2 separate regions of the Homo sapiens genome follow, and region 1 is linked to region 2. Evidence: promoter capture Hi-C in 16 types of primary human blood cells and fetal thymus (Javierre and others, 2016). All regions are on one chromosome and are shown on one strand. Each heading gives the region's core, a stretch centred on a gene start or on the middle of the fragment in contact. The rest is flanking DNA. Distances are from core to core; before and after follow the strand shown.

Region 1 (5,665 bases), core at 1,293-3,792, 79 kb before region 2:
AGATCTGAATATGTTAATCCCAAAATTAAAAAAAAAAGCTTTATCATGCCAACTTTAATTAGATTAATAAAGATTATATAAGTGAATCATTTACTTCAGGTATATTGTTTGGCAAAACTTGTGCTGCTCCAGGAAAGAATAGCTTCTCCTCTAAATATTATCGTAAGGAGAAAAACACATCTAATGTCAGGAGCAGAGCTCATATGGCAGCTGGTCAACTAATGGATCCTGTAATTGGCAAAGAGATGGGCTTCTGCAGATAAAGGAAGCAGAGTAATCATGTTGCTAAAAATACACGAGTGTTTGGCTCTTCAGATAACAAATGGGCTGACACAGGACCATATGCATGAAGCTAAAAATACCTTGCAAAATAGCTGCAATGAGGTGCCCTGGGACACAGTTGTAATAATAAACGACTGTATACTGGCTGTCAGGCTCCTATTTGACAAAACTAAAATATCTTGTACTGCTTTTCTACTTACTGGGAACATTGGAAAAAAGAACACAAAATTGTCAATGTGGCAGTGAAAGAAAACGCTCATGGAAATGTGAGATCTGATAATCAGATAATGCAAATGATACTGTATACATAGCAACAATTTCTATCCTCAGAATAGCTCACGATAACAGGGACCATTTGTTTTAAGACAGTAAGATCCAATTCACCTGACTGTGCTCTGTGACTTAGGATCACTAGATGCTCAATTCTGAGTCACAATATCTTAGTAGCTGTATCACCTGGGGCAAGACTCCACATCATTATTCTGAGGCTTAGCTGTCTCATCTATAAAATGGGATTAATAAAACCATTGGATACTGTGGAAATAGAATAATATATCAAAACAGAATGTCTGGCAGAAACAACGCTTGTCTTTTTTGTCTTGAATGTAGATCGAGTTAAACATAAATAAGAATTCATCCAAATATTTGCTGAGTGGTGGAAACATTATATTTTCTTTATTCTGGAATGAAATGGTTAATTATTCAGGGATAAGAAAAATCTTTTTATAACCAATCACATGCCTGGACTTTGTAACCTTGGTGACATTCTAAAGTGCTGTTGAGATTGCTGCTGCTGCTGCTCTAATGAATCCAGTGTTTTGGTGGAACTGGGGCATCCAGGGTCCTACAGCAACAGAAGTGTTTTCCAGAGTAGTGGACATAATGGGCCCCTTCCTGAGCAACAAATCCTCCACTCATCTTTCCTAATCAGACCCTCAGTTTCCTAGCCATGCGATCCTGCTGTGGCTCCTGATTGGCCTCCAATAGTTGCATAATTCTACCTCTGTTGCCACAGAGATCAGTGCACTATGTAACCCAGGTCCAACCAATCAACATGCAGCATTTTCCCAGCTTCAGTCATTCATTTTGGAATGGGCATGTGATCCCAGTGATTCAATCAGAGCAAAGCTCAATCCTTTTGTTTGGTGGTCAGGGTATCAAAATAGCTTTCTGCCCTGTGTATGAATAAGAAAGTACATATCATCAATACACAAAAGCCAGTTACAGTTTCACAAACTTGCAACCTTCAGAAAACTTACTTTAAACATATATATGTGTGTGCATATATAAATGCAGTCAAAAATATTTTCTCCTAGCTACATAGGAGAAAATAATCTAACAAAATATGGGCAAGACCTTTAATAAGAAATGTGAAAACTTAATTGAAAGATACTAAAGAAGACATAAGTGAAGAAATATGTCATATGGATAAATATGAAAACTCAGTGTTAAAAAATGTCACTTCTAACTTGTTCTATACTATCAATTCATTTGCTATGAAAATTCTAATAAGTTTTTTCAAGGGACTTGATAGTTTGTGTACTCCAAAAGCAGATGTTGAGATGGAGTTTGGGGTGCTAGATGTTTACAAGTATATTAGTCAGTTCTCACATTGCTATAAAGAAATACCTGAGACTGGGTAATTTATAAAGAAAAGAGATTTAGTTGGCTGATGTTTCCACAGGCTGTACAGGAAGCCTGATGCTGGCATCTTCTTGGCTTCTGAGGAGGTGTCAGGAAACTTACCACAATCATAGCAGAAATGGGGGCAGGCACGTCTTACATGGCAGGAGTAGGAGAAAGAGAGAGTGAGGGAGGAGGTGCCACACACTTTTAACCAGCTCTCAAGAGAACTCACTCACTATCATGACACAGTACCAAGGGGAAAATCCACCCCTATGATCCAATCTCCTCCCACTAGGCCCCACCTACAACATTGGGGATTACAATTTGACATGAGATTTGAGCGGGGACACAGATCAAAACCATATCAACTAGGAAGGTGTGAAAGGAACAGGGAGGAAGCAGGATTGGACAGAGGAAGATGTTAAACTCTGATGCAGCCTTGACAAGTCTCAACCAACCCTGTGGTGAGCTCTGAGAAAAGTACTGCCCTTCAGAGCATCCTACTTCAGGCCAAAATATTCCTCATCCCACTTAATCACCAGATAAAGGCTGCCCTGGAAAGGCCAAGTCTCTGTGTAGGTGGTTCTCTGAAGCTGAGGCTAATCTTAAAGAAAGTGATATTTGGGGGCTGTCTGCTGACTGTACTCCTTTCAGCCTGCCAGCAAATTCTTCCTTGAAGGAGGCCTATGAAAGCAAATCTATGTCTATCACACAAGCTGATTCTAAAACTGATAGAAAAAAAAAGCCAAGAATAGCTAAGATATTACTCCTGAAGACAAAGGAGGAAGAGGTGAGAGAGGAAGAATGATGAGGAGGGGAAGGAATAAAGGGATTTGTCCTACCAGAAACAAAACTTATTTTTATTTACCTATATATTTATCATTTTCTGTGTTTTTCATTCCTTTGTGAAGATTCAACTTTCCTGCTGGTAGGATTTCCTTTAAGCCTGAAAAACTTACAATGTGGGCCTTTTGAGATAAATTTTCTCAGCTTTCATTTACATGAAAAGGTCTTTATTTTGCTTTTGTATTGCAATGTATTTTAGCTGGATATAGAATTCTGAGTGAGTTGATGCCAGGCGCGGTGGCTCACACCTGTAATCCCAGCACTTTGGGAGGCCAAGGCGGAAGGATCACAAGGTCAGGAGATCAAGACCATTCTGGCCAATGTGGTGAAACCCCATCTCTGCTAAAAATACGAAAATTAGCTGGGCGTTGTGGCGTGTGCCTATGGTCCTAGCTACTCAGGAGGCTGAGGTAGGAGAATCACTTGAACCCAGGAAGCAGAGTTGCAGTGAGCCGAGATCATGCCACTTCACTCCAGCCTGGGTGACAGAACTAGACTCTGTCAAAAAAAAAATTCTGAGTTGACAGGGATTTTTCCTTTTAATACTTTTCAGATGTCATCTTCTTATGCTTAGGTCTCCATTTTTTCTGATGAGAAGACTGTGGTCATTCTTATGTTTACTTCCCTGATTGTAAAACCTTTTTGCTTTGGCTACTTCTAAGACTCAGGAATTGGACTAATATATATCTAGGTGTGGTTTTCTTTGGAACTTGCCTGCTTGGGTTTTGCTGAGCTTTCAGATATCTTTCATCAAATTGGGAAAAGTTCTGGTCATTACTTCTCCAAATATTTTCTGTTCTAATATTTGAATCCTCTCATTCTGGGACTATACTTCCACATGTTTTGGAATGCTTAATATTTGCCATAAGTTACTAAGATGCTTTTCTTTTTCTTTTTTTCCAGCTTTTCCCCCTATCTTTTTTCTTCAGCTTCTTAGATAGTATTATGGGCTAAATTGTGCCCCTACCTCAAATTCATATTTTGAATTCCCAACCCTTAGTACCTCAGTGTGTAATCAAGTTTTGAGATAAGGTCTTAAAGAGGGGACTGAGTTAAAATGAAAATATGACAGCTGAGAAGCCTATAATTAAAATAAAATAAAATAAATAAAATAATAAAATAAAATGAGAATATCAGAGTTATCCAATCTGCCTGATGTCCTATAAGAAGAGAAAGGACACCAAGGGTATATGTGCACAGCAGACACCCATATGAAGAGGTAGCAAGAGGGTGGTCATCTAAAGTTAGAGGCCTTAGAGAAAACTAACCCTGCTGACACCTTGATCTTGGACTTCCAGCTTCAGAACTGTCAAAATAAATTTGTCTCGTTTAAACCACCCAGTCTGTGGTATTTTGCTATGTATTACTAGCAGACTAATCCAGATAGGTTCTATTGTTTCTTATTCAAGTGCATGGATCTTTTTCTCTGCAATTTTCAATCTGCTATTAATTCCATCTATTATTTCCTGAAAATATAACTTTTTTGTTTCAAATGTGGTATTACTAATTTTTAGAATTCCCATTACTACATTAATATTCCCCATTTTTATGTCTCATTATATGCATATTTTCTTTTACATCCATGGATATATTTATAATAGCTATTTTTAAGTGCTTGTCTGTTAAATTCAACATCTGGTCATTGCCATTGAGGATGCAAAGATGGGAGAACTTTGCTAAATTTTTCTTTCCTGGTTATGGCACATTTTCCTGCTTCTTTGCATATCAAGTATTTTTTTCATTGTATTCTGCCATTTTTTTCTTTAGAGATGAAGTCTCACTCCCAGGCTGGAGTGCAGTGGCACAATCATAGCTCACTGCAGCCTTGAACTTTCAGGTTCAAGTGATCCTCCCGCCTCAGCCTCCTGAGTAGCTGGGACTACAGTGTGAGCCACCATGCCTAGCTTGTATGCTGGTCATTGTTAATACACGTTGAATATCCCTTATCCAAAATGCTTAGGACCAGAAGTATTTTGGATTTGGAATTTTTTTTTTTTTACAGATTTTGGAATATTTGCATATATATAATCAGATATCTTGGGGATGGGACCCAAGTCTAAACACAAAATTTATTTATATTTCCTATACACCTTATATACGTAGACTGAAGGCAGTTTCACAATATTTTAAACAATTTTGTGCATGAAACAAAGTTTTTGTGCATTGAGCCACCAGGAAGCAAAGCTGTCACAATCTTAGCCACCCATGTGAACAATCTGATTGTTTGGCATCACGATCATCCCTGGCTCTAAACTGATATGCTACTCATAAGCAATAATTTTCTTAAGCTTATTCACACATAAATACTTAACATTAAAACATATGATATGCCATTAATACAATGAAGAAATATTGTGTGCAGAATAACTAAGTAGCACAGTAGCATCACCAGAATACCTGTCTCAGCTGTTAGACAACGGCAACAACAAACAGTGATAGGTTGCAACCTCCACCTGATGCTTTTCTTTGACTAAAAGGTTACTAGACAGTGTGTTTCTTTTTCTTTTTTTTTGTTTGGTAAGAAGAAACATCAAAAGTAATTGAGGGACCAGGAAATAGGTCCTCTAGGAATGAAGAGGCATTCTGCAGGATGGCTTTTAAAAATGTTTTCTCCAGAATAATCTGCCTCATTAACAATGAGTTTTTGCTTAGATGTCTTTTCTTGATTTTATAAACTGAGAAGGTTTCTTGTCTTGTTATAAATATACACTGCTGTAGTCCTTCAAAAAGCCCACCACACATTTTCACCATGTTGTCAATAGATACTTTTCCTGTAGTGTTGACATCATCTTCATCATCACTATTATCATCATCTTGATTGGGAACTGTTTTGTCATATTTCACCATTGATCATTGAATAAACAACTGGAGCCTTGTTATTGATGTTAAAAACTTTTTCAATTATCACCTT
Region 2 (5,398 bases), core at 940-3,439:
CGCGGGTCCCGCATTACATCACTGGTGAGCTCTGGCTTGGGGGTGGGTGGGTGAAAACGAGGCTTCGCCAGGGACCCAGCCCCCGGGCGAGGAGGATAAACAGAAACACACTGGTGGGGAGGTCGTGTCGAGGAAGAGAAAGAAGGAAAACTCAGGAACCGGTTTCCTGCCACCACCCCGCGTAGGGGGCGGGGGACTGCTGGGGTAAAAGGCAACATCTTTATAAGCAGCCGCACCCCAAATCTCCTTCCCGAGCGCCTCCAGGCCGCCCTCAACTCCCAATTTCAAGTCCAACAAAAACCGATATCCTAAGCTGCTGGGAAAGCTGCGTTGAGAAGGCCGAGGGGGACTGCAGAGGAGCCCAGGGACGGGGAGGGACCGTGGTGCACGCGCCGGGGGCGGGGGACGGGGAGGCGGGAGGGGGAGGCGGTCGCTGCTGCGCCCCCGCCTGGCCCAGCCAGCGGTGCCTCCCCCGCCAGGCGACAGCAGTCAGAGGGGGGAGGCAGAAGCGCCTCCTCCCCGCCCGGAGCCCAGGCGGCGGTGCAGGGGGAGGAAGGCACCTCACCTTGCCCCCGATGAGGGGCGGATCATGCCATGGCAGCGCCGGCGAGCGACAGCGGCGGCAGCCAGCAGAGCCCAAGCAGCAGCCCCGGGAGCCGGGAGGGAGCTGGGGTCGCCGCGAAGGGAGCCCCGGACTGCGGAGACGCAGGAGCCCGGGACGCAGCGGAGACGGTCTCCGGCCTCCCTCCGCTTGAGGACTACGAGTGCAAAATCTGCTACAACTACTTCGACGCGGACCGGCGCGCGCCCAAGCTGCTGGCGTGCTTGCACACCTTCTGCCAGGAGTGCCTGAGCCAGCTGCAGCTCCGCGCCGCCGCCGCCGCCGCCGCTGCCGCCGCGCCTGAGCGCCCGCCGCGCCCGCCGCCCTGGCTCTGCCCGCCCGGCGCCATCGCGTGCCCGGTGTGCCGCCACCGCACGCCGCTGCCCGACAGCCGCGTGCACGGCCTGCCCAACAACACCAAGCTAGCCGAGGCCTTCCCGCTGGCTTTGCGCGCAGCGCACGACCCGCTGCCCCAGGACCGCCTCCCGCCGCTGCCCGCGCGCCTGCCCGCGCCCGCTGCTGCCCCGCCGCCCACCCCGGCCCCGCCACCGCCGCCCTCCCCCGCCCCACCGCAGCCGCCGCCGCCGCCGCCTGCCGAGGACGCGGCCCCCGGGCCTCGAGCCCGCCCCGGCCTGCGCGCCCCGGGCGCCTACGACAGCTGCCAGAACTGCAAGCGCGCGGCGCTCACCGCTGGCTGCGTGTGCGTGGTCTTCTCCTTCCTCTCCATGGTGGTGCTGCTCTTCACCGGCCTCATCTTCGTCAACCACTACGGCGGCGGGGGAACCCCCGGAGGCGGGGCGCCCCCTGGCGAGGCACCGGCCACCGGGTCGCCCTCGCCCTCGCCCGTGGGGCCCATCTGCCTGTCGGTGGCCAGCATCCTGGCACTCTTCTCGGTCGTTGTCACCTGGGTCATCTGCTGGCTCAAGTATCGGCCCGAGGGTGCGGCCGCGGGCTCGACGGGGGGCAGCGGCGGCGGCGGCGGCCCGAGGGCACGGGCTGCGGCGGGCGGCGCGCGGAGGAGCGACACATAGCCGGGCCACGCCGCGGAACCGGCGCCTGCACCTCCAGCCCCGCGTGGCGGGAGAAGAGGGGGCCTCTGGCTCGGTGCGCTCGAGCTTCTGCACCCTCTCCCTGCTGCCCCCGGGCTCTCCTGGACTCACACTCTCTCCCAACTCGGCCACTGAGGAGCCTCGGTTTTCTGTCCCTCGGGCTTCTGTCGCCCCTCGCCCTTCGCGCTGGGCCAGAGAGGGAAACTGAACAGGAAGGGATGTTGGTGGGGGGGGGGGGTCTCTTTTGCCTGGACTGTGCAAAATTGACCTCCGCGTTATGCACCACCCTCGTCCTCGTCAGAATGTGCGGCCATCCCTCCCTAGAGCACAAAGATCTGCAGAGACGAAGCAAGGGGAGGGGGAGCCCCACCGCCCCGCCTGAAAGCTGGTTTTCTGGCCGCCAGGACTTGAGAGTTTCTTTAAAGGTGCAGCTGCGCGCGTGCACACGTGCATCTGTGGCGGCTGTGAATGGACTTGAATTGCCCGGAGGAAGAATGAATGGGATGTAAACGTGAGAGGAAAAGGATTTCCTGCTTCCTAGCGGTCCTGGAAAGGGAGAGATCCTGAGCGCTGAGAGTGACGGACACTCCCCGCCGGCACAGCGCGGGCGTGCCCGGAGCTCAGGCAGCAGCTGGGCGCGATGGGGCAGGTGCACGGCGCGCGTGCGCGATCGGAGCCGACTCGGAGTGGCCGAGGCTGCGGCGCGCCCAGGGCGGTGGGCCCTGTTGCCCATGGCCGGGTGTTGTCTGGAGCAGAGCCTAGAAGTCTCATCTCCTGGAAGCTTGTGGTTGTTTTATTCACGGTGTTACTGCCAGGAAGTCTTCTGTAACTAGACTCAGGGAGCTTAAAGAGCCTGTTCTCCCTTCTCTCAAAAGTGGCTTACGGTTGCCCCCACCTGGAAGATATTGAAAGCTATTCACACAGAATATAAACTAGATTTTCTCCTTCCCCTCGCCTTTTTTTCTTAATTTCATTTAACATATAATTTATTTTTGAATATATAAATCTGGAAATTTTTGTGCATTAAGATTTCCAGAAAATTGTTTGATAAGCAGTGACATTATTCCCATACCTCGAGTCCAAATACATTTCGAAATTAGGAGCAGAAAATAAAAGCCTGTTGGTAATTGATTCAATATTTTATACTGTGAAATAACTAATGACTTTTAATTATCTGATAAAATATAAACTAGTGCCCAAACATGAAATCAACTAACTGAAGGTCTTTCTGCCTTTGGCTACAAAAGATATATATCGTATACACTTATTAGAAAGTATTATATGATTTTGAATTTAGCTGTTTGATATTGTTGGAATTACTGAAATGTTCACATACAGTCACATGAGATGAAAAAGAATATATATCTATCTGATTTTGTAACTACAAAGATGAATTGCCAGTATATGTTGCAAGTGGGTTAGATGCCTTTTTTTTTAAGAAGGAAAACTGTTCCAAATGTATTTTATATGAAAACATTCTTTATTCCATCTTTTGAAATTTGGAATAAGACAAAGTTTTCATGCTTAAAAATCACAGAATCTACTGAAGGTATGCTATTATTCCTCGAGTATTTATGCAAGCTGTCTGCATGATATCCTGACACTATTCTATTAATTGAACTTGAATCGAGCATTTGTATCTATCATAGGAGTGAAGTAATTTATTGGCCATTGATAAGTGGTTTGGCTGCAATGTAGAAACTACAGTATGAAGTGTTTTATGTCTGCATTGTCTTAATAATAAAAACAAGAGGTATTTATAGAAATATCTATTTTCATGACATTAATTTCATGGTAAAATTGCTCCATTATTTGTGTGGCACTTCTCTTCCTTAAATACATGTCCCCTTCTAAATCCAAATTTCACATTTTTAAATGGGGCTGAGAGAGAAATAACTCACACATGGAAATGTGCGTTGCTAAGATGGGCATTTAGTGGGATTATTTCTAGGAATAATGACCCTGGAAGGCCCAGTGAGATCTGTTGTATTCTGAAGAGAGAAGTAACTTACATATTTACTACCACAATGTCCACTAAAACTAAACTCTGTTGTCAGACTTTGTTCTTGCCTTCTATGAAATGTTTTTAGGTTTCTATTACTAAAAGTCACTTTTCAGAACTTAGTTTTAATTTATTTATACCCCCATGTCTTGTGTTTTACTTCTATATCCATTTTTACCTCTTATTCATTCTTTATTTACCTCCATTACTAAGATTCTGTTTGCACTAAAAACTGTTGAGTTGCACAAGTGCAGCTACACATGTATATATGTATGTATTAGGTTTATGTTTAAAGATATATTATGTATAAAATATATGCATACTGGTAACAACTTGGCTTTGTGGCTGTAACCATTGTACATGTGTACACACACATGAGTTTTTTATGTGTGCTAAACTGGCAACCTAGAAGTCTGTCTAAGGTTACTTTGGGCACCAGGTTTCTTTTTAGAGTTTATTTGTGCTCCAGAGAAGTATGCCAATAATGTAACCTAAAAGATTCCTCATAACTGAGAAATACATTCTTGAATCACCTCGATGGCAACAGAAGCCACATTTTGCTTCTATTATAGATTGCACGTGTAAATTTCATGTAATTGAAATTTGAGTTAGAATACTTTGAAGTCAAAGAGACACACTTAGCAGATCAGTATCTAAACATGGAGAGAGATTTTCTGTGGCTTACCATGCTTTATTGCTAATTTCTGATTTTGCCATCAGGAACTGAGTGGCAGGATGTGGTCATGGAAAATATCTGTCTGGTTTCTAGTGGTTATCTGGCATTCAGGTCTCTCTCCCCTCTCTCCATTCAGCAGATTGGGTTTAATCATTTATATTTACGTGGAAACACCTATACACCAGCACCTTAGACAAAGCAGGAGTTTAAGAAGTAATTGTTGAAATAGCAAGTAAGTTGTCTGGAGGATTCCTGGTGAAAGTGGTATTTTTTTTTCCCTTCCCATGGCAACTCTTCATCTTGGAAAAGCTTGATTCAATCCTGGACACCTCTACTACCAGTAGAGTCACTACAAAAAGCCAGGCCTGGTCTGGTCTCTGTACCTGCTTGGAAACTCCTGGTCCCCATGGGCCACATTCTGCCTAGGTTCTAGGGCTACAGGTTAGACTCATCATCATGCTTTCATAGGATCTACATTTCAGGTGAAAGAAACTCATGATGCAGGTGGCGAATTAAACATTCAGTCTCTGAATACAATATGATTTAGTGAACAACAGGCACATCTAGAAAGCACATTGGATTTGGGGTCAGTATCTGCAGGCAGGAGGTGTAAGCCTGAACATTGGTTCTCTCTTTAGTCGGAAAGACCGTTAAAAATCATTTAACCTCCTTTGAGTCTCAGGCTCCCCATCTATAAAATTAGGGGTGGGGAGTATCAGCGCCCCCTACCTCATGGAGTTGGTGTGAAGATTTGTACACATAAGAGGGTAAATTCATGAAAATTCTTTGGAAACTAAAGCCCTATATGGACCTTGCTTTTATTTAGGTCTCCAAGTGTCTAATATTACCTCCCCAGAGAGGTCTGCCCTGGCCACTCTATTCCCAGTGGGTATCTATCCCAGTTTTACTTTCTTAATGAGATTTACTTTGTATAATATGTGTTATACTGTTTGCAGTAGTCTTAGTTATCAGTTGCATTTTTCATCACTCTCCTGCAGAATGTAAAGACATAAACAGGAACTTTGTCTATCTGGTCATCCATTTGATCTGCAAAGCCTTAACCAGTTCTG

Evidence for each region. Contacts are between HindIII fragments. The CHiCAGO score rates a contact against its expected background, and 5 or more counts as called.
Region 1: a fragment that was not itself captured here is called in contact with the fragment with the promoter of CT75 in region 2 in 1 of 17 cell types (M1 macrophages); the score reaches 5.1 in M1 macrophages.

What each region holds. Positions count from the first base shown.
Region 1 is chr2:222,394,223-222,399,887 of GRCh38, reverse strand. No RefSeq gene overlaps it. Among named protein-coding and RNA genes, the nearest start is that of SGPP2, 27 kb to the left of the region's middle. RefSeq lists an enhancer at 5,539-5,665. The HindIII fragment of the contact is 5,004 bases long and covers 41-5,044 here.
Region 2 is chr2:222,315,262-222,320,659 of GRCh38, reverse strand. CT75 (cancer/testis associated transcript 75) reads right to left here and starts at 2,189. Exons shown (of 4, transcript NR_136642.1): 1 at 1,290-2,189. RNF228 (ring finger protein 228) reads left to right here and starts at 505. Exons shown (of 1, transcript NM_001395871.1): 1 at 505-5,398. The coding sequence starts at 595. The coding sequence ends at 1,632. RefSeq lists silencers at 325-634, 1,275-1,604 and enhancers at 2,075-2,124, 1,901-2,496. The HindIII fragment of the contact is 3,961 bases long and covers 1-2,433 here.